Linked DNA regions of Homo sapiens: all the other regions are linked to region 2. The links are contacts of gene promoters, found by promoter capture Hi-C in human tissues and cell types (Jung and others, 2019). All regions are on one chromosome and are shown on one strand. The core of a region is centred on a gene start or on the middle of the fragment in contact, and the rest is flanking DNA. Distances in the headings are between cores, read along the strand shown.

Region 1 (3,883 bases), core at 152-2,651, 400 kb after region 2:
CAAAGATATGCTTTTTAAAAGGCAGGAGGGTCTCTTTCACAAATATGTTAGATCTGAGCACAGAAAACCATTCAATCCTTGGTTCGTTTAAAGCAGCACAGATAAGTCTAAGCAAGGAATAAATCAAGCAGCAAAGATTTAATGTGAACCCAAAACATCAGGAACAAAGGAGATGAAAACTGGTAAAGATACTAAAAAATGGAAAGGGAAAATGATTATTATTACAGAATGTGATAAAAGCTGCCAATGTCAATGACAAATAGGATCTTCATCTCTATCAGCAGAATTCTACAAAGTATCAAAAAACACGTTACTGTACTCTCCAAAACAGATTGCTTATATTTATTTTGAACATAGCCTCAATGACCAGTTGGAAAAAGTGGTCTAACATGCTATTGAAATACAAGAAAAATACTTGAAGATATAATGGCTGAAAACTGTCATAAATTGATAAAGACTGTAATCCTTCTGATCCAAGAAACCCAACGAACCCTGAGCAGGATAAACACAAGAAAAACACACAGCACATCAGGCTGGGCACGGTGGCTCACACCTGTAATCCCAGCACTTTGGGAGGCCGAGGTGGGTGGATCACAACATCAGGAGTTCAAGGCCAGCCTGGCCAACATGGTGAAACCCCGTCTCCACTAAAAATACAAAAATTAGCCAGGTGTGGTGGTGGTCACCTGTAGTCCCAGCTACTCGGGAGGATGAGGCAAGAGAATCGCTTGAACCCGAGAGGCAGAGGTTGCAGGGAGCCGAGATCGTGCCATTGCACTCCAGCCTGGGTGACATAGCAAGACTCCATCTCAAAAAAAAAAAAAAGAAAGAAAGAAAAAAAAAAACACATAGCACATCAAAATCAAATTACCCTAAGCTAGTGATATAGCAAAAATGTTGCAAACAGAGTGAAAAAGACCCATAGAGAAATGAACACAAGGATGATGAGATTACTTGTCAAAATGTTAAACAGAATCTAATCTAAAAAGAGTTTTAAAGTGCTAAAAGTCACTAGCATTCTATATCTATGAAAATAACACTCAATAAGGTAAAATGAAGATGTTGGCTGACACAAACAAGAGCTGAAAAAATTCACTGAGAGCAAACAGAAACTACATGAAATGTAAATCAGACTAAACAAAAACTATACCAAATAAAAACTTCCATCTATGTAAAGAAATGAAGAACATCAGAAGTGATAAAGATGTGGGTAAATAAGCCTTTTATTCATTTAAAAATTGTTTTAAAAATTGTTTAAAGTCAAAATAATAAAAATATATTGCAGGGTTAAAAACATGGGGAAATAAAATCTATGAAAACAATAGAACAAAGACCAAATGAGGAAATGGAAGTATATTATTGTCAACCTCTTACATTATATGGGAAGTGATATAATACTGTCTACAAATAGAGAGAGATAAGATACAGGTGCTTATTACAAAATCTAGAGAAATTATTTTTTAAAAAATCAAACAGGTATAAACAAATAAGATAAAGATTTAAAAGAATGCTTTAAAAATACCAAATTCAACCCAAATAAGGCAAGAAAAGACGGGGGAAAGGATCCAAGAACAAATGTGACAAATAAAAACCAAAACATTAAAAGGGCTTAACTCAGCAAAGGACATGAACAGATATTTTTCAAAAGAAGACATACAAATGGCCAAAAAGCATAAGAAAAAATGATCACAACATCTCTAATCAGGGAAATGCAAATTAAAACCACAATGAAGTATCATCTTACAACAGTCCAAATGACTATTACTAAAAAGTCTAAAAATAGAAGATGTTGGTGAGGATGCAAAGAGAAGGAAACACATACGCTGTTGGTGGGAATGTAAATTAATACAACTTATATGAAAAACAGTATAGAGATTTCTCAAAGAACTGAAAATAGAACTATCATTCGATCTAGCAATCCCACTACTTGGTATCTATCCAGAGGAAAAGAAACAATTATATAAAAAAGATACCTCCAATTATATGTTTATCACGGAACTATTCACAATAGTAAAGATGTGGAAACAACATACATGTCCATCATTGGAAGACTGGATTAAAAATGTGGCATATATACCATGGAATACTACTCAGTCATAAAAAAGAACAAAATCAGGGCCGGGTACGGTGACTCATGCCTGTAATCCCAACACTTTGAAAGGCTGAGGTGGAAGGATTTGCCTGAGGCAAGGAGTTCGTGACCATCCTGGGCAACATAATGACACTCAGTCTCTAGAAAAAAATTAAAAATTAAAAATTAGCTAAGCGTGGTCGCGCATTACCTATAGTCCTGGCTACGTGGGAGGCTGAGATGGGAAAACCCCTGAGCCTAGAACTTGAGGCTGCAATCAGCTATGATTATGCCATTGCATTCTTGTCTACAGCAAGACTCTGTCTTCAAAAATAAAAAGTAAAATAAAACAAGAACAAAATCATGTCTTTTCTAGCAATGTGTATGAAACAAGAGGCCATTATCTTAAGTGAAATAGCTCAGAAACAGAAAGTCAAATACTGTATATCCTCACTTATAAATGGGAGTTAAATAATGTGTACACATGGACATAGAGAGTGGAATAAAAGATATCACAGACTTGGAAGGGCAGGAGGGGGGTGAGGGATGAGAAATTACGTGGTGGGTATAATGTACTCTATTTGGGTGATGATTACACTAAAAACCCAGATTTCGCCACCACACAATATATCCACGGATCCAAACCGCACTCACACCCCCTAAATTTATAGAAATACAAATGAAATAAAATTAAAAGACTGTAATCTAATTAGATGAATAATTACATTAAGTGAAATGGTCTGAATATTCTAATTAATAGAGATTTTCACACTAGATAAAATTGTTGTAAGACTCAATAATATGTTTTTTATGTGAAATATAAGTATGAAGACAGATTGGTTAAAAGGACGGACAGTTTTATCATGCAAACACTAATGAAAAGAAAGCTGGGTGGTTTCAGCTACAAAATATAAAGAAATTGGGTTTACCACTAGTCCTCACAACAAGAAAAATGCTGAGGAAATGGAAAACCGATGACTTTTCTTAGGTCCATGTGAGAATTTAGGTCACAGGGCAAACAACCACATTAAAATTATTCTTTTTTATTTTTTTTCTGGAGAGACAGGTGAATATAGAGAATGGCGGTTGAGATTGGCTTATCTGAAGGAGAAACCGCCAGGAAAATCAAAATGGTAACTTCAGTGAATTCCTGCAGAATGAATATGCACTAGCTTGGGAGTTAAAAAAAGTCCCAGGAGCCCCAACTTAGAGGAGTCCCCACACTTTTAAGAATTTTACCTTCAAGAGCTCCAAGACAGTCTTTACGGTGAACATCAGAGAAAACCCCCTCCTGTTGCAGTAACAGTTTTGAAATACACCAAGGGTGTTCTGGTCTCCCTAACAAAAACTTGCCTTCTCAGGGAAAATGCTTCGACAAAGTCTTCTCTGACCTAGGGGAAAAGCAGACACTCAACTCTGGCCGCATCTATCTGTCCTGTCTCCTTTGAAAGAGAAAGAAAAAAAACTGCTAAGAAACAATTCTGGCCACAGGCCAGAAATTCAGCCTCATTTTAAAAATAGGACCTTACCAACATTCATCAACAGGGCTTCCATATAGTAAGAGTGGATTACAACTGAGAGAGCAGTAAGCCACAGACTCTATTTAGGAAATAGTTCTCAAGGTATCCTAGACAAGAGAGTGAAGAAACAACATCACAAGTCAACTATGGAAAACTAAAACCTGTGGCACTTACAGCTATAGCAAATACTAAACAAAACCCAGCTCATTGTCAGATTAACATAAAACCTCACACTAAAAGCTTACTATCTCAGTTCCTATTACTTGACAAGTCAAGTCCAGCTTTCAACAAA
Region 2 (4,050 bases), core at 1,404-3,903:
TGTGCGGAAGCGGATGATTGAAGTACCCCGTGGAGTAGCAGAAAGGGGCATCAAAAACTGTAACCTGAAAATAAAAGCTTTAACCTGTTCCCCAAAAGACTTCATGCCTGCGTCTTAATGTTCAAATAACACCACTAACAACAAAAATGAAATAAGAAAAGTGCTTGAAATACAATCAAGCCGCTTACTGGAGGCTTGCTTCCGAGTAAGTTTATAAAACACAAATGCAAATATCTTTTCCTGGCGAATATCCAGAGCTAAACCAGTGGAAAGTTGATCTTGATAAAACTACGTCCCTCCATTTTTTCTCGCACGCCAGACACTAATTTCACAACGGCGACTTTTATACCCAAAACGGAGAGCTGAGAACACCGCTGCAGGTCGATTTGCAATTTACATAACAAGCTGTTTACACTTCACTGGGCCGATGGAGGGAGGAGGCAGGGAAGAGCAGGAGGCGACAGGCTGGTGGGGGAGGGGGCAGCGGGGCACCATTGCCTGTTGCAAAACTCGGGGCCGAAGGCGTTTCCCGCATTCGGAAAACAAAGCATCCGTAATCGCTGCGTTCATCTCCGCGCACCGCTAGCAGTGTAAAAGGCAGCTTCAAGACCGAACTCACCACTTGCTGAGGTGTTCAGGGAGACCACTTAAATCTCCTCCAGGCTGAAGCCACAGCACTCCTTAAAGCCTCGACCAGGCGGGCTGATAAGACCTTCAGGGTGCCGGGCTGGGGGCTGAACAGGAATTAAGTGTTCAGGTCCTGGGGCTTCACCACCACCCTCGCCCCTGTCTAGTGTCCTTGGCAACCAGCAAGTGCTGAGCCTCCTGTTGGTGCTTCTCCAACCCACCAGTGACTTGGCCCGCAAACCACCTGGAAAAGGAGTCTCCAGAGACCCCGGCGCACAGCAGGCCAGGAGGCAGCTGCCCCGGGATTCAGAGCAACCTCGGGGCAACCCTCCCTCCTCCAAAGGCTAATTCTAGAAGAGGCAGGTCCTCTTTCCTTCGATGTCAATGTCCATTATGAAACAGTAATTTTTAAATATTCAGGTGACACGGAGATGCGCCTGCTACACGTCAGCGTCCTTCACATGTAACAGCCGAAGCTGCAATTTGAATTTTCCTGCCAACGTGAGGAAGCCGGGATTCGAACCGGGGAGACAAAAGGGGTCCCGAACATGTCCTTGGATTTAATAGATGGTCGGAAATCAGGGGCAGCGGAGCTGTTAAATGCGTCACGCACGCTTCTTCGCAGTCTCCTGAGCTCGCCACTTCCCCCAGCTTCTAGTGAACGACTTGGGATTCAGCCTCCGGGAGGGTCTCTCCTCAAGTCGCTAAAATGCAGAATCGCCGTGCCGGGGGAGGGAGGCCTGGCTCTTTCCCGCTCCTTCGTTTCTTTCCCTCATTTCTCTTCTTCCTGTCCCATTCCAACCACCCAGCGACGGCGAATCTCAGGCGTGTGCACAACGAGCGGGGGCCCTTCCGTGCGTGTCCCCCCAGAATCCTTGAACCGCCCTCTAGGTGCGACCCTGGACGTTCCCCCAGACACACCCGTTGTCTCTGCGAGCCGGCAGCCCCGCGCATGTGGAGATGGAGACTGGCCTGGGGAAGCGTTAAGCTCTTAGACATATTTATTTGCTTCTTGTCATCACACCTGCTAATGTCACCGAGCCCGCAGCCTGACCCCTCATCTGAGCCGAAACGGGCCTGACGGGATCAGAGGGGGCGGCGGCGCGGCGAGCCGGTGGGACCCTCGCGGGCGGGCAGGGGAGCGCGGGGCAGCAGCCGGGCTCCGGCAGCCCTCGCCGCCCGCACCCTCAGGCCGCCAAGGGCCGGCCCCCCGGGGAGGGGGGCGAGAAGCAGGGCGGCCCGCAGCGGGGCGGGCTCATCCTTCGCGGGTGAACGGCCGTCGGAAACTCCCAGCAGGGCCCCGCACCCCTTGCCTTCATTTCGGCTGGGGAGGGGTCATGGAGGGGGGCCAGATGGGCGACGAACCTTCTTCCCCACCGCGAGCAGGGCCTGGCTGTGACCGAGCCCTCAAAATCATGTCCTTTGTAGCCGAGTTCAGGACAGGAGAACCTCCAAGTGGAGAAAAGCCGGAGACGTCAGTGACCCGAGTGAGACTGGCGTTGGAGAAGGGAGGGAAGGGGCTGCGGGAGGGGAGAGGCGGCGGGGAGGAGAGGCTGGGGCAACCCCAGCGCTGGCGTCGGCGGGGCTGGCGAAGGAATGAGAGCGAGCCAGCACGAGGCGGGGCGGAGACGCCAGGGCCACTCGGGAGCCGTGGGCGAAGGAAGGGTCTGCACGGGGTCCCGGGAGGACCCAGGAAGTCTGCGCGAACGGCGGGCGTGGGTCCGGAGGGCCCGGGGTGGGAGGTCTGCCGGGCGCCGGCGGCAGGCAGGTGGACTGCGGGGGGCGAACCGACGGCGGGCCGGGCGCCGGCGCGGGCGCAGGGCCGGGGCCCGGGCCAGGGCGGCCGGCGCGCGTGTGGTCAGCCCCGCGGTCCTCCGGCCTCCGGGAGCGGGCCGGCAGGGCTCGGCCTCCGGCTCATTCGGAGGCGGTTCTCACCTCCCATTGGCTGCCGCCGCTGGCGGGGCGGGGCTCCGCTGCCCGGAAAAAAGTGTAACTGCGTAAAAAAGTCCTCGCCTGGGTGACGGATGCTCAAAAGTTCAGAAGTTTTCCCAATGCTTCCTTAAGCGGCTGGCGCGCGAGAGACCGAGAAAAGGTGACGCGGGGCCCGGGCAGGCGGCCGGCGCGCGGCCCCCCCCCCCCCCGCCCTGGTTATTTGGCCGCCTTCGCCGGCAGCTCAGGGCAGAGTCTCCTGGAAGGCGCAGGCAGTGTGGCGAGAAGGGCGCCTGCTTGTTCTTTCTTTTTGTCTGCTTTCCCCCGTTTGCGCCTGGAAGCTGCGCCGCGAGTTCCTGCAAGGCGGTCTGCCGCGGCCGGGCCCGGCCTTCTCCCCTCGCAGCGACCCCGCCTCGCGGCCGCGCGGGCCCCGAGGTAGCCCGAGGCGCCGGAGGAGCCAGCCCCAGCGAGCGCCGGGAGAGGCGGCAGCGCAGCCGGACGCACAGCGCAGCGGGCCGGCACCAGCTCGGCCGGGCCCGGACTCGGACTCGGCGGCCGGCGCGGCGCGGCCCGGCCCGAGCGAGGGTGGGGGGCGGCGGGCGGCGCGGGGCGGCGGCGAGCGGGGGCCATGCAGGCGCGCTACTCCGTGTCCAGCCCCAACTCCCTGGGAGTGGTGCCCTACCTCGGCGGCGAGCAGAGCTACTACCGCGCGGCGGCCGCGGCGGCCGGGGGCGGCTACACCGCCATGCCGGCCCCCATGAGCGTGTACTCGCACCCTGCGCACGCCGAGCAGTACCCGGGCGGCATGGCCCGCGCCTACGGGCCCTACACGCCGCAGCCGCAGCCCAAGGACATGGTGAAGCCGCCCTATAGCTACATCGCGCTCATCACCATGGCCATCCAGAACGCCCCGGACAAGAAGATCACCCTGAACGGCATCTACCAGTTCATCATGGACCGCTTCCCCTTCTACCGGGACAACAAGCAGGGCTGGCAGAACAGCATCCGCCACAACCTCTCGCTCAACGAGTGCTTCGTCAAGGTGCCGCGCGACGACAAGAAGCCGGGCAAGGGCAGCTACTGGACGCTGGACCCGGACTCCTACAACATGTTCGAGAACGGCAGCTTCCTGCGGCGGCGGCGGCGCTTCAAGAAGAAGGACGCGGTGAAGGACAAGGAGGAGAAGGACAGGCTGCACCTCAAGGAGCCGCCCCCGCCCGGCCGCCAGCCCCCGCCCGCGCCGCCGGAGCAGGCCGACGGCAACGCGCCCGGTCCGCAGCCGCCGCCCGTGCGCATCCAGGACATCAAGACCGAGAACGGTACGTGCCCCTCGCCGCCCCAGCCCCTGTCCCCGGCCGCCGCCCTGGGCAGCGGCAGCGCCGCCGCGGTGCCCAAGATCGAGAGCCCCGACAGCAGCAGCAGCAGCCTGTCCAGCGGGAGCAGCCCCCCGGGCAGCCTGCCGTCGGCGCGGCCGCTCAGCCTGGACGGTGCGGA
Region 3 (4,370 bases), core at 1,296-3,795, 370 kb after region 2:
TCCTAAATACCATACCCTGACTCTTCTATGGAATTCAGGATGCCACACAAGTATCTAGCAAACATAAATTTGAAGTTCAGAAGAAGCAAGGAAAACCAACATTCAATGTTCAATTCAAAATAGCCAGTGAGGGAGAGGCACCAATTAGAAGCAGCTGCAGTCCATGGCACTCATGGAGAGGAGTGAAAGGGGTGAGTGAATACAGCACCCTTAGCTGAAATACCTAGGTTATCGCATTGGAACGGACTAGGAAAACAACTCAACCCATGGAGAATGAAGAAAAGCAGGGTGGGGCAATGGCCCACCTAGGGGCATCATGGAGGCAAGGGAACCCCCACCCCCAGCCAAGGGAAGTGATGAGTGATTGTGTGACACTGGGAAAGCATGCTTCTCCCACAGATCTTTGCAACCCACGGATCAGGAGATCCCCTCGTGAGCCCATGCTACCAGGGCCTTGAGTCTGACACACAGAGCTGTGTGGAGTCTTGGCAGAACAGCTGCTCAGGCACAGACACAGACCCAGAAGCTTTACATACTCCAGCCCCAGGATATCCAGCAAATATGTCTACAGCTCAGGCAAGGCAAGAGGTCTGCACATACCCTAGGAAAGGGGCTGAATCCAGGGAACCAGGCAGCATCATTCTGCGGGCCCCACTTCCACTGCACTTCACAAGATAAGACCTACTGTCTTGGAATTCCAGCTGGCCACCAGCAACAGAGTGGAGACTGCCTGAGACCAGACGGAGCCCACGGAGAGAGGGGCAGGCTGCCACCTGGATTGCTGGATAACTCAGCTGTTCCAACCTGCGGGCTTTGGAGAGTCCAAAGGGTCCCAACGAGGAAGGGTCCCCCCAGCAGTGAACCAAAGCAGCTTTGTCAGTTAAAGGCCAGACTGCTACTTTAGGCAGGACATCAATCCATTCCTCCTCACTGGACGGGACCTACCTGGTGGGCCCACCAGCCATGCCCAAGCGCATGTATTAGGGACAGAGCTCTGATGTCTCCCTGGGATGGAGTGCCTGGAAGAGGAAAGGGCCACCACCTGGGTTGGTTGGATAACTCAGCCATTCCAGCCTGCCAGCTTTGGAGAGTCCTAGCCGACTGAGGCAAAGGGGGTTCCCCACCATGAAGGCTGTTTTGTAGAGGTGTGGCCAGACTGCTTCTTTAAGCAGGACTCCGTTATACTCCTCCTTGTGGGGCGGGTCCTCCCAGCTGGGGCCTCCAGCCACCCCCTCCCACCCCATGTTCTTTGGGGCCTAAAGAGCTCTAATTTCACCCTGGGGCAGAGCGCCTGAGTGGTGGGGCAGGTCATCACCTTGCCTGTTTGGGCTGCCTGTGGGCCATGGAGAGCCCAAACCAATCAGGGGCTGAAGGGATCCCCAACACAGCATAGCTGCTCTACCAAAAAGCAGCCAGATTGTTTTTTTAAGTGGGTCTCTGATCTTGTTCCTCCTGAGTGGGTGTGACTTCCAACCAGGGTCTCCAGCCACCTCCTCCAGGTGCGTTCAGGCCAGCAATAGGTCAGTACCCTTGTGGGATGAAGCTTCCAGAGGAAGGGGCAAGCTGCCATCTTTGCTATATCACAGCCTTCACTGGTGATAGGTACTGGAAAAACTGAGGCAACTAGGGTCTGGAGTGGCCAGACTATTAAAAACAAACAAACATACAAACACAAAACAACAAAAACAAAACCACAAGAACTCCATCCAAAGGTCAGCAACTCATTTGTAAATAAGCCCACAAAGATGAGAAAAAAAATCAACACAAAAACTCTGAAAACTCAATAATCTGGAGTGCCCCTTTTCCTCCAAATGACTGCAGTAACTCCAGCAAGGGCTCAGAACTGGGTTGAGGATGAGATGGCTGAAATAACAGAAGGAGACTTCAGAATGTGGGTAATAATGAACTTTGCTGAGCTAAGGGAGCATGTTGTAACCCAAAGCGAAGAAGCTAAAACAATACATATGGGAGCTGACAGCCAAAATAGCCAGTCTAGAGGAACAGAACCAACCTGATAGAGCTAAGCTAAAAAACATGCTACAAGAACTTTACAATGCAATCACAAATATTAACAGCAGAATAGACCAAGTGGAGAAAAGAATCTTAGAGCTTGAAGACTGTCTTTCTGAAATAAGACAGGCAAAAAAGAATAGAGAAAAAAGAATGAAAAGAAATAAACAAAACCTCTGAGAAATATGGGATTATGTAAAGAGAATGAATCTACAACTGACTGGGATACTTGAACAATATGGGGAGAATGGAACCAAGTTGGAAAATATACTTCAGGTTATCATCTAGGAGAACTTCCTCAGCCTAGCAAGATAGGCCAACATTCAAATTCAGGAAATGCAGAGAATCCCTGTGAAATACTTCATAAGAAGATGATCCCCAAGACACATAATCATCAGATTCTCCAAGGTCGAAATAAAAGAAAAAATGTTGAGGGCAGCCAGAGAGAAAGGCCAGATCACCTACAAAGGGAAGCACGTCAGACTAACAGCAGACCTCTCAGTGGAAACCCTACCAGCTGGAAGAGATTGGTGGCCAATATTCAACATTCTTAAAGAAAAGAATTTCCTATCTAGAATTTCATATCTGTCCAAACTAAGCTTCATAAGTGAAGGAGATTTAAGATCCTTTTCAGACAAACAAATGCTGAGAAAATTGGTCACCACCAGACCTGTCTTGCAAGAGCTCCTGAAGGAAGCACTAAATATGAAAAGGAAAACCTGTTACCAGTCACTACAAAGACATACTGAAGTACACAGACCAGTGACACTATGAAGTAACCACATAAACAAGTCTGCACAATAACCAGCTAGTATCATGACAGGATTTAATCCACACATAACAATACTAACCTTAAATGTAAATGGGCTAAATGCTCCAATTAAAAGACACAGAATGGCAAGCTGGATAAAAAAACAAGACCCATTGGTATGCTGTGTTCAAGAGACTCATCTCACATGCAAGGACACACATAGGCTCAAAATAAAGAAATGAAAGAAAAGTTACCAAGCAAATGGAAAACAGAAAAAAGCAGGGGTTGCAATCCTAGTTTCTGACAAAACAGACTTTAAACCAACAAAGATTAAAAAAAAAAAAGACAAAGAAGGGCATACATAATGGTAAAGGGCTCAATTCAACAAGAAGAGCTAACTGTCTTACATATACAAACACTCAATAAAAAAGCACTGCCAAGTTCATAAAGCAAGTTCTTAGAGACCTTCAAAAAAAGACTTAGACTCCCAACAATAATAGTGGGAGACTTTAACACTCCACTGATAATATTAGACAGATCATCAAAACAGAAAATTAACCAAGATATTTTGGACCTGAACTCAGCTCTGGATCAAGAGGATCTGATAGATATTTACAGAACTGTCCACCCAGAAACATTCTTCTCATAGCCACGTGAGACTTACTCTAAAATTAATCACATAATCAGAGGAAAAACACTCCTCAGGAAATGTAAAAGAACTGAAATCATAACAGTTTCTCAGACTACAGCCCAATCAAATTAGAACTCAAGACTAATAAACTCACTCAAAACTACACAACTATTAATACATGGAAATTGAACACCTGCTCCTTAATGACTCTTGGATAAATAATGAAATGAAGACAGAAATCAAGAAGTTCTTTGAAACTAATCAGAACAAAGAGACAACATACCACAATCTCTGGGACACGGCTAAAGCTGTGTTAAAAGAAAAATTCATAGCACTAAATGCCCACATCAAAAAGCTAGAAAGATCTCAAATTAACAACCTAACATCAGAATTAATAGAACTAGAGAACCAAGAGCAAACAAACCCCAAAGCTAGCAGAAGACAAGAAATAACCAAGATCAGAGCTGAACTAAAGAAGACAGAGACATGAAAAAACCTGCAAAAAAAAAAAATTCAGGCTGGTTTTTGGAAAAAAATTAATAAAATAGACTGCTAGCTAGACTAATCAAGAAGAAAAGAGAGAAGATTCAAATAAACACAATCAGAAATGATAAGGGGGATATCACCACTGTTCCCACAGAAATACAAGCAACCATCAAAGAATACTACAAACACCTATAAGCACATAAACTAGAAAATCTACAAGAAATGGATAAATTCCTGGACACATACACTCTCCCAAGACTGAACCAGGAAGCAACTGAATCCCTGAATAGACCAATAATGAGTCTGAAATTGAGGAGGTCAAACCAAAGAAAGCCCAGGACCAGATAGATTCACAGTTGAATTCTACCAGAGGTACAAAGAGGAGCTGGTACCATTTTTACTGAAACTATTCCAAAAAATTGAGGATGAGGGACTCCTTCCTAACTCATTCTATGAAACCAGCATCATGCTGACACCAAAACCTAGCAGAGG
Region 4 (4,204 bases), core at 609-3,108, 340 kb after region 2:
TGTGATCGCCAAGTGTACATGTCATCTATGAAGTATCATAGTCTACAAATGCAATGGTAAACCAGATGATGTCACTTTGTGCCCCAACCAGAAAGGCTACCCAGAACCTGGTGGGTCCAAGAGTAGCGGCCAACAATCTAACCATTTATGGACAGACAAATGGTATTGTGTAAAACCTATAATGCTCTACTGAACTCCAACAGGAGATTACTTCATCCCCTGATTTCACAATGGGCTGCTAAAATTTTTTGCAATAAATTAAGTCTCTGATGCTCATCTACAAAAGCCACAAAGCACCTTTTATAGCTAGAAATACAAACAAAATATTAAGGTATTTGCTATTGGTTTGCCTGTTTGATACTTCTACAGTGCATGATTTGAATTTGCCAAACTGGCCAATATTCAGTAATTTTTTAAAGATTATTTTATTTAGACATGTTATATGTAGTATTTACACAGAGAGAAAGTGTTTTCTGCCTATTGTGATTAACTGAAAACAAGTCCCAGTTACCTAATTTCTATCATGCATTATATTATTCCCTAAAGCACTAAAACATCTATGAATTCTAATAGTTTTAAAGGAAAATTCTCATATGCAGTGAACCCTTCACACTAATATTAGTATAATCCTATGCATTGAAAGATAATCTTGAATCAGTTCTAACTGTTGTTTTATATCAAAGCCAGATCATGGACTCTACAACTTATTCTCAAATGAAAAATGTGTTATTCTTATAACTAATAACAAAAAGTAAACATGTTCATTGATTTTGGAGGCTTGGGAGGGTCCCAAACCCATCTTGACTTGGCTCGTGAATCAGTGGGTCACTGAGGTGAGGGTTCAGCCTCCAATGATTAGAAGAGTCCTGGGTTTGAGTTGGGTCTGACCTGCAGCAGACCATAATACTTAAGGCCCTGGAGCTATTTGAATCCGAATGTTTTCTTTGGTGTTCACGTAAATGTTTGCTAAAGTTCTATGAAGAATTTACTGTAAAGTGAAAGTGATACCTAAAGAAAAATGAGACCCTACTGTTGTTCTATGAAGAATTTACTGTAAAGTAAAACTGAAGTGTAACGAAAAATGAGATGGCATTCATCTCATCTGTTACAGGTGGCATTCACACAGATTCTGCAAGCACATTTGGAAGGATGACATCCTAGGGCAGAGTTTCTTATCCTCACCACCATGAACCATCTGGACAGGACAGGCGTTTGTTATAGAGCCATCCCGTGCACACCACTATGAACCATCTGGACAGGACAGGCGTTTGTTATAGAGCCATCCCGTGCACTGTAGGATGTTCAGCAGCATCCCTGGCCTCTACCTACCAGACACCAATAGTAGCCCCCTCCTCCGTTGGGACAAGAAAAATATCTCCAGACACTGCCAGACGTCCTCTGGAGGAAAGAGCCACTCTCTCCCCATTCCCCACCCCTAGTTGAGAACCACTATTCTAGAGCATTAATCTTATCTTTACAGCAACAAATAAAGACAATCTTTAAAAAACAAATCAAAAGGAAAATTACCCCAAATTTTACTTAAATTTTGACAAGTAATTTTTACATGAATTATTTTAAAAATTCTGAAGATTAATTTATAAAGATAAATACAGTCAGACATTTTATAAAGCAAAGTACTTGGCAGCTAAAAAAATGCTCAAGACGAAAACTCAAAACCACAAGTTCATGAACCTTAAAAATGCCAGATTCTTTCAGTCAGGTGAATACTGTGTTTAGACTGATGTATATGATTTCTTATGAAGCCCATATTTAAAGGAATGTCCTATCTCATCTAGAAATGGCTCAGTATCTAAACAGTGCTAGTACACCATCCATTTGTGGCAATCTCACACGGTTAATTATGGGTATATTTAAAGTACTTTATAGCTTCCCATTGCCACATGATTTTTAATGTTTTATTTTTTATTTTGTGGTAGGGATGAGGTTTCACTATATTGCTCAGGCTGGTCTACAACTCCTGGCCTCAAGTTATCCTCCTGTCTTAGCCTCCCAAAGTGCTGGAATTACAAGCATGACCACCATGCCCGGCCTGATTTTTAATGTCTTTTATATTAGTTCTTCCTATTACCAACTTCTTGATAACAGGCAAGAGAAGTTATTTATTTCATATCACATTTATATTCTAATATTATAAAACTATGTTTATTGTAATTATTTCTGTCAAACATCTTAAAGGAATATTGCCTTTAAGCAAACTAATGGTCTTTTACAAAGATAAGAGCAGCTGAGACATTCCGTTTCCAACTTGTCCACTTGCTTCACTGCCAAGCTGAGGTGGCCCACTCAGTGTCACAGGGGTTTCTTTGCTCAAGTTCAACTCTAAAATTCGTATATATGTTATTTCCACAAATATGTACAATATTTACATGACTTCTCCTAGGATTATTTCTGGTCTCCGTGTTAGCATTTATTGGCTTCACGACCTTGGACAACTCAATCTCATGCTGCTTCTGTTTCCTCATTGCTGAAAAAAGGGAGATGAAAGAAGCTTTAAATTCCTATTTCACAAATTCTGAGGGTATTTTGGGAGAATACCTACAGGTGGATGTTAACTGGCTGCTCCCTAGAAGCTCTTTCAAGGAAAAAATAGTATCTAATGGCTTAATACACATTTTTAAAATTAAAAAATAGAGAAAAATAGAAGTACACATGAATTTCATTTCCACATACAGATAAAAAATTTGTAAGTTAAACAAGTTAGTCAAAATGTCTCTGAAAGTACCTGTGGAGTATTAAATCACTATGTCAAACGCAACACGAAGAGCTAATGAGCGTGCATTTTTCACAGTAAGGATGATGATGATGATGATAGCCAAACCCCTCTGATTCCTCAGCTGGGAGATGATTAAAAAAAGTTCTTCGTGACTCAGAATGAAATACAAAATAAACCAGCTTTCTGGAAGTATTTACTAGGATCTCATGAAATTCTGAACAGACAGTTTAGCAACGGAAGCGCTCCTGGGGGAAGAAGGTAGTGATGGATCTGTTGCAAGGCCCCATGGTCAGAGACAGAGGAGCAAAGTTACATATGGCAAGTAGAAGAGAGGCTCAGTTAGGCGTTAGGCAAATATGGAAAGGAAGAGAAAAGAAGATCCACAGGGAGAGAGAATGCTTTACCCAGACTGAGTAAATGTCCCATTCTTAAACACTGAGAGAAGAAAGAGTGGGAGGAGAATGGAAGAAATACGCTGTCAACAGGGAACGTGATTTCTTACTCAGGCTAAAGGTATCCAGGGATGAAGCCAATCCCTATGAGTGACTCACGGCTGGTAACCAACGGCCCACGAGGTAGGCTCATGTAACCAAACATCACCTCCTCAGTCAGTCCTGGAAGTAGAGGTTACTACATTGCCCAAACTTTCCTAATGATCGAAAGACTAAAATGAGTCAACATAAGAAAAATATCCTCATCGAAAGACGGAAATCTTCAACTGATCTCCTGCGGAAAGCAAAGGGCTGCTGGGTATGAGAGGCAGGCCTGCCAACAGCCGGCAGCACAGAACAACTTTCTCCGTCACACCCCTGGGTCAGGGCTTTCTCCTCCAGGACGTGGACCCTAGGAAGTCTCACAGAAACCGAGGCTGCTGTTCTTAGTGTAGGAAATCAAAGCGGCTAATTCTACACTCATACTGAAAACTGAAAAATCACATTTAAAAAAAAAGAATGCTGAATATTATGTGTGTTTCACCCTTTATTCACAATAGCTACTGTCATCAAAATTAGGAAATCAGGGATAATCTAATCATTAAATTTTTTAACCTTCCAAAAGTAGAAGGTAGAATGTATTTTTTGTTCCCTCTTAATTATCATGCAAAATGTTTTTTCTTAATTTAGAATACACTCATATTAGTGTTATTTATAGTTTTGTAAAGGTCACCATATTTGTATTTATGGCATGCCAAAGTACTCTGCCAATGTTAAGAATTAAGACATAATTAGCCCCAACTGGTTACATTACATATGTGATGAACAGTAGTTATTCTTCTTATTTACCTCCTAATGTAATAAACAGTCAAAACTAGAAATATTGTTAGCTTTACTAAATAGGCTTGCTTCCCATGTTCCAATTTATAGCATAATCTTTAAGAGTAGATTTTATTACTGGTAAATAACATATTTGAAAAGAAACTAATATACTTATTTATGAACTATTTTTAAATAATTAAAAAAACCTCTCAATATT
Region 5 (4,211 bases), core at 589-3,088, 270 kb after region 2:
CTATGTCACCAATTCTTGGTCCACAAAAGATAATCTAAGTGATTATTTTTAAATACACATGTAAGTAGGTTTATTTCTGGTGAGTATTTTATTTTTAGAACTTCTTTTCTAAATCAATGAAGGAAGGCATGGGCTTAAAAAACATGGTGTGGTATTTTCAAACTGGAACATACAGTTTATGCTGTCTAAATTAAGCATATTTAGCAGGCATCTGGGGTCTGAGAATTCTTCATAGCCCTTGGTCCCTCAGAGCTGGAGGCAGAGAAAACTGACATACAATACTCTCAGTGTACTGCACCAAAGAGCTATTTAATTGGCTTTTTAAAATGGATATATAATATTGCTTAGAAATGCAAATATTGGTTAAAATTCCCAGTTTAGTTGAGCATGCACAAGGATATATGCGTGTGTGTACATAAGTACAACTGTATACACTCAAATATGAATAAATGGCTAGAATGAAATAAACCAAAGTGTAATGAGAGGTGCTCTTAGAATAGTATGACAAGTTAATTACAAGATTCCATATTTTGCAATTAGAATAATCATGACACAGAATCAATTAAACAGAAGAGAGAGAAATAATTAACGAAGGACTTTGCATAGGGAGTTAAGAAAGAAAAAAGAAAAAAATCCAATCTTAAGAACTCAACGTCATAAGCAGTGTCTAGCAGAGGGTCAGTGAGCAAAAGGATCCAAACACAATTATTACTGCTGATTATCTAATAAGCACTAATGTGGCCACAGACAGGATATTTAAATTCCACATCATATTGTCTTGAAGTCATTATCTAATGGATTTATAAGGATAAGGCAACATGACATAATAGAAAACTCATGGGTTATCCAAGTTCAGAATTCCCCGGTCTTTATAACTTTTAGGCTTAGCTCCAGGTTTTTCCTTTGGTAAAACAGAACAAATCTCTATCACGAGTGATTGTTGTGAGGATTAGAAGAAACTGTGTATGTAATCTAGCTTGGTTCCTCATAGGAACTCATATCATGGTAGGTATGCTGGCAGTACTAGCATGAGCCATTTCCTAGAGAAAAGGATTACTCTTTTTGCATATGTACAATTTGTGGCATTAAAAACAAATATATAAGTAGGACTTTGATTTCTTTAAAAATATAATTTTATGGGCCGGGTGCGGTGGCAATCCCAGCACTTTGGGAGGCTGAGGCAGAAGAATCACGAGGTCAAGAGATCCAGACCATCCTGGCCAACTTAGTGAAACCCCATCTCTACTAAAAATACAAAAATTAGCTGGGTGTGGTGAGGCACGCCTACAATCCCAGCTACTCGGGAGGCTGAGGCAGGAGAATTGCTTAACCCTAGGAGGCGGAGGCTGCAGTGAGCCAAGATCGTGCCACTGCACTCCAGCCTAATGACAAAGCGAGACTCCATCTCAAAAAAAATAAAATAAAATGATAATAATAATTTTATGGAAATCACAATTGTCCATTTATCTTTTTTATACATTGATTAATGGATTTTTAAAAATTAAACAAATTAAATACCTTAAAGACAATTTGAATAAAAAGAACCTTCCACATATATTATAAAATCATAGATTTTAAAAGCTAGAAATACTCTCAGATACATGAGCTCACTCTAAAACCCTGTTTTGCTGAAAAAAATCTAGGTAAGTCTAATTTTCACACACATACATATTTAAGGAGCAGACACAGCACTACAAGTCAGCTCCCCTCGTACTGAAAGACATTTCCTCCTACTTAAAAATGTACAAATTATTTTGTGTGCTGAGCCAAGCAATGAAAAAGCTTCACCATTAAAACATGAATATTTAAATTTTAACATTTAAATATATCTAAAAGGAATTTTGACCCCATATACTTTGTTTCAGTATTAACCAAATAAAGGGCATAAACTCAAACACATTATTACACATTTATTTAATCAAAACTAGGCATTTCCCAATCATTACAAAATTTATTACCTAGTTTTAATCCCAGTTCATTTAGAATAGATGGACAGAACATGGCCATCTATATAATATTTATTATACAATTTTTAACTAGTAAAGATTTTGATTTAATGTAATTACAATCAGAGCGAGAGCCTCAATGTAAGGAAAAGGAGCCACAATTAAACCACATATAGGAACCTGAAATAGTCATTTCCTTTCTCCCCATATATCTTACTTTTCTACCAAATGGTCCCAAGTACCCAATCAAATATCTATGTGAAAAGCAGATCAATACAACCATTCATTAAACTTATACAGTTGAGAACTTCCCTTGGGAGAATTATCCAAAGACCAAAACACTGCCAACAAAGGAAAATATGATATAAGAGGGCAATTTATATTTAACTCAAATGATCACACTTAATAAAAAGCACAAATCCCAGAGTTCTAAGGGGAGGAAATGATGTAGCGTTAACCAGGGAAAGTCTACAAATAGGACTGGTGGTCAGCTATGTCTTCACCAAAGTGGCATTTTTGCCAACAAGACTCTTGGCAGCCCTTAAGGGGCTAAGCTAGCACAATTGACCAAATATGGTGGGGAATGTGAAAACTTCGCAGATATTAGCATTTATTTTTGAGGCTAACATAACACAGTCCACAGGCCTGCCATCAGAGCCTGCAGCCATTAAGTGATAACTGAAGCAGTGGAATGCAAATAATCCATTGGTTCACATTAGTGTCATGCTCATTTGTAAATGTTCCCAGTCCTCTTCTGGCCCTTAGGGTACCTCACTTGCATTTTAGGGGCAAAACCCATGGGCAGTATATTTAAAAAGGAGTTAAATTATGAGCACACCAGTTAGCAATGATTTACTCATTAAAAAGTGCATTAGGCTACGGTGCCCTGAGCTGCGCGACCTCATAGCTGATCACTTCTAAAATGCTTGAATAGACATTATTTATCTACTGGCAGTGGCCCAAGATTTATCTATTTCAGTCACAAAGTTCTATCATTTATCTATACGCTCCCTAACTCAATGTTAAATTTTGAAATGGTGATTTAACTATAGGAGGAAACTACATTGAAATGAGTGAAAAATGAATGTAGCACTCTGATAAAACAGGAGATATTTAAGCAATCTGGCACCTCTCCTCTGAGATGTTAAAAGGATGTTTTAAGTAATTTATGAATTTAAGGGGATAAAGCCCTCGTTATGGAGAAACAAGGTCAGAAGTCTCAGAGCACTTGACCCAGAGATGCCATTTTGGACTCCTGATTCTGGAAAAGAGTAAAACTCTGTAATTTATTAGAAAAGCCTGCATGGAAATTAATTTACAGCCTAGTTATCTCCATGTTACAGAGATAAATATAATTATTTCTCATTTTGAAGTTGAAAAAGAAAAGCTATCTTAGAATAAGTGGATTCTCCCCCTTACTCTCTGGTTCTGCTTGTTTATCTTTATCATATATCAAATTAATGTGCCACAAATACCAGTGAAGAAGTGAAATGTTTAATCTGAACTTTATTTCACTTTCTCACACCAAGGAAGAGTAGGAGAAACCATGGGAGGGATATATCTAAACCGACATTGGCTGGAGACTACAAAGGCAAAGAACGAAGTGTTTTCATAGTGCTAAGACACTATGCTTTAGTTTATAAAGATCACAGTGGAAAGTGACGTGACAAGGTCGTGACTGTTCCTTGGTCTCCGAGGTTGCCTAAGTATTAGAGGGCAGAGTCCACCTTGTCAGTCTGTGGGCTGCCCGCTTCCCACGTTTAAGTGTCTGATGTTACCATCTACTTGCTATTCCCTACGGGACATCGCTCCTCCTCTGGTATGGAACGTGAAGACCACAAACCTTGTTTAAACTACTGCAGTGGCAGGCTGGCCTGGGATACCATGCTGCATCCAGCCGCAGGCAGAGGGGCCAATTTTACCCTTTCCTCTTGTTCCACAGCTCAAAACAAAGGAGTCTTCTGAACTCACCAGGCTGCACTGACACAGACTGAGTGGTTCCCAGACCGCTCTGATTACTGCTGTCTGTAGAAACGTGAAGGGCAGGGTAAAGTAAAGTGACTGAGCCGGGAATCACAGCATGCTATTCAATCTGAATGTTTCTGTAATTCATAAAAAATTTCCTGCTTGGTCATTTGTCTGAGAAAAGAAGAAAAGTTATGATTTTCCTCCTCCCGTCCTCCCAAAAGGTAAAAGCAATGCCAAGAATGTCCTCTTAAAATATAACATTAATTTCCAACTTGAAGAACTTAGCATACTTCCATC

What was found. The method cuts DNA at HindIII sites, captures the fragments that hold promoters and counts their contacts. A contact is called where the count stands out against the background at its distance.
Region 1: a fragment that was not itself captured here is called in contact with the fragment with the promoter of FOXC1 in region 2 in 1 of the 25 tissues and cell types used here (heart right ventricle).
Region 3: a contact is called between a fragment that was not itself captured here and the fragment with the promoter of FOXC1 in region 2, in 1 of the 25 tissues and cell types used here (IMR-90 fibroblasts).
Region 4: a fragment that was not itself captured here is called in contact with the fragment with the promoter of FOXC1 in region 2 in 2 of the 25 tissues and cell types used here (H1 embryonic stem cells and lymphoblastoid cells).
Region 5: a contact is called between a fragment that was not itself captured here and the fragment with the promoter of FOXC1 in region 2, in 1 of the 25 tissues and cell types used here (aorta).

The regions. Positions count from the first base shown.
Region 1 is chr6:2,009,516-2,013,398 of GRCh38, forward strand. The region is part of intron 4 of GMDS (GDP-mannose 4,6-dehydratase); the gene reads right to left. Among named protein-coding and RNA genes, the nearest start is that of GMDS, 230 kb to the right of the region's middle. The HindIII fragment of the contact is 5,524 bases long and covers 1-3,883 here.
Region 2 is chr6:1,607,262-1,611,311 of GRCh38, forward strand. FOXC1 (forkhead box C1) reads left to right here and starts at 2,654. Exons shown (of 1, transcript NM_001453.3): 1 at 2,654-4,050. The coding sequence starts at 3,185. It overlaps FOXCUT (FOXC1 upstream transcript), which reads left to right. Exons shown (of 2, transcript NR_125804.1): 2 at 1-97. RefSeq lists enhancers at 189-698, 3,412-3,511 and a silencer at 2,462-3,081. The HindIII fragment of the contact is 11,200 bases long and covers 1-4,050 here.
Region 3 is chr6:1,977,340-1,981,709 of GRCh38, forward strand. The region is part of intron 4 of GMDS (GDP-mannose 4,6-dehydratase); the gene reads right to left. Among named protein-coding and RNA genes, the nearest start is that of GMDS, 270 kb to the right of the region's middle. The HindIII fragment of the contact is 5,340 bases long and covers 1-4,370 here.
Region 4 is chr6:1,949,645-1,953,848 of GRCh38, forward strand. The region is part of intron 6 of GMDS (GDP-mannose 4,6-dehydratase); the gene reads right to left. Among named protein-coding and RNA genes, the nearest start is that of GMDS, 290 kb to the right of the region's middle. RefSeq lists an enhancer at 2,771-3,970. The HindIII fragment of the contact is 8,040 bases long and covers 1-4,204 here.
Region 5 is chr6:1,881,982-1,886,192 of GRCh38, forward strand. All of the region lies in intron 7 of GMDS (GDP-mannose 4,6-dehydratase), which reads right to left. Among named protein-coding and RNA genes, the nearest start is that of FOXC1, 270 kb to the left of the region's middle. The HindIII fragment of the contact is 6,892 bases long and covers 1-4,211 here.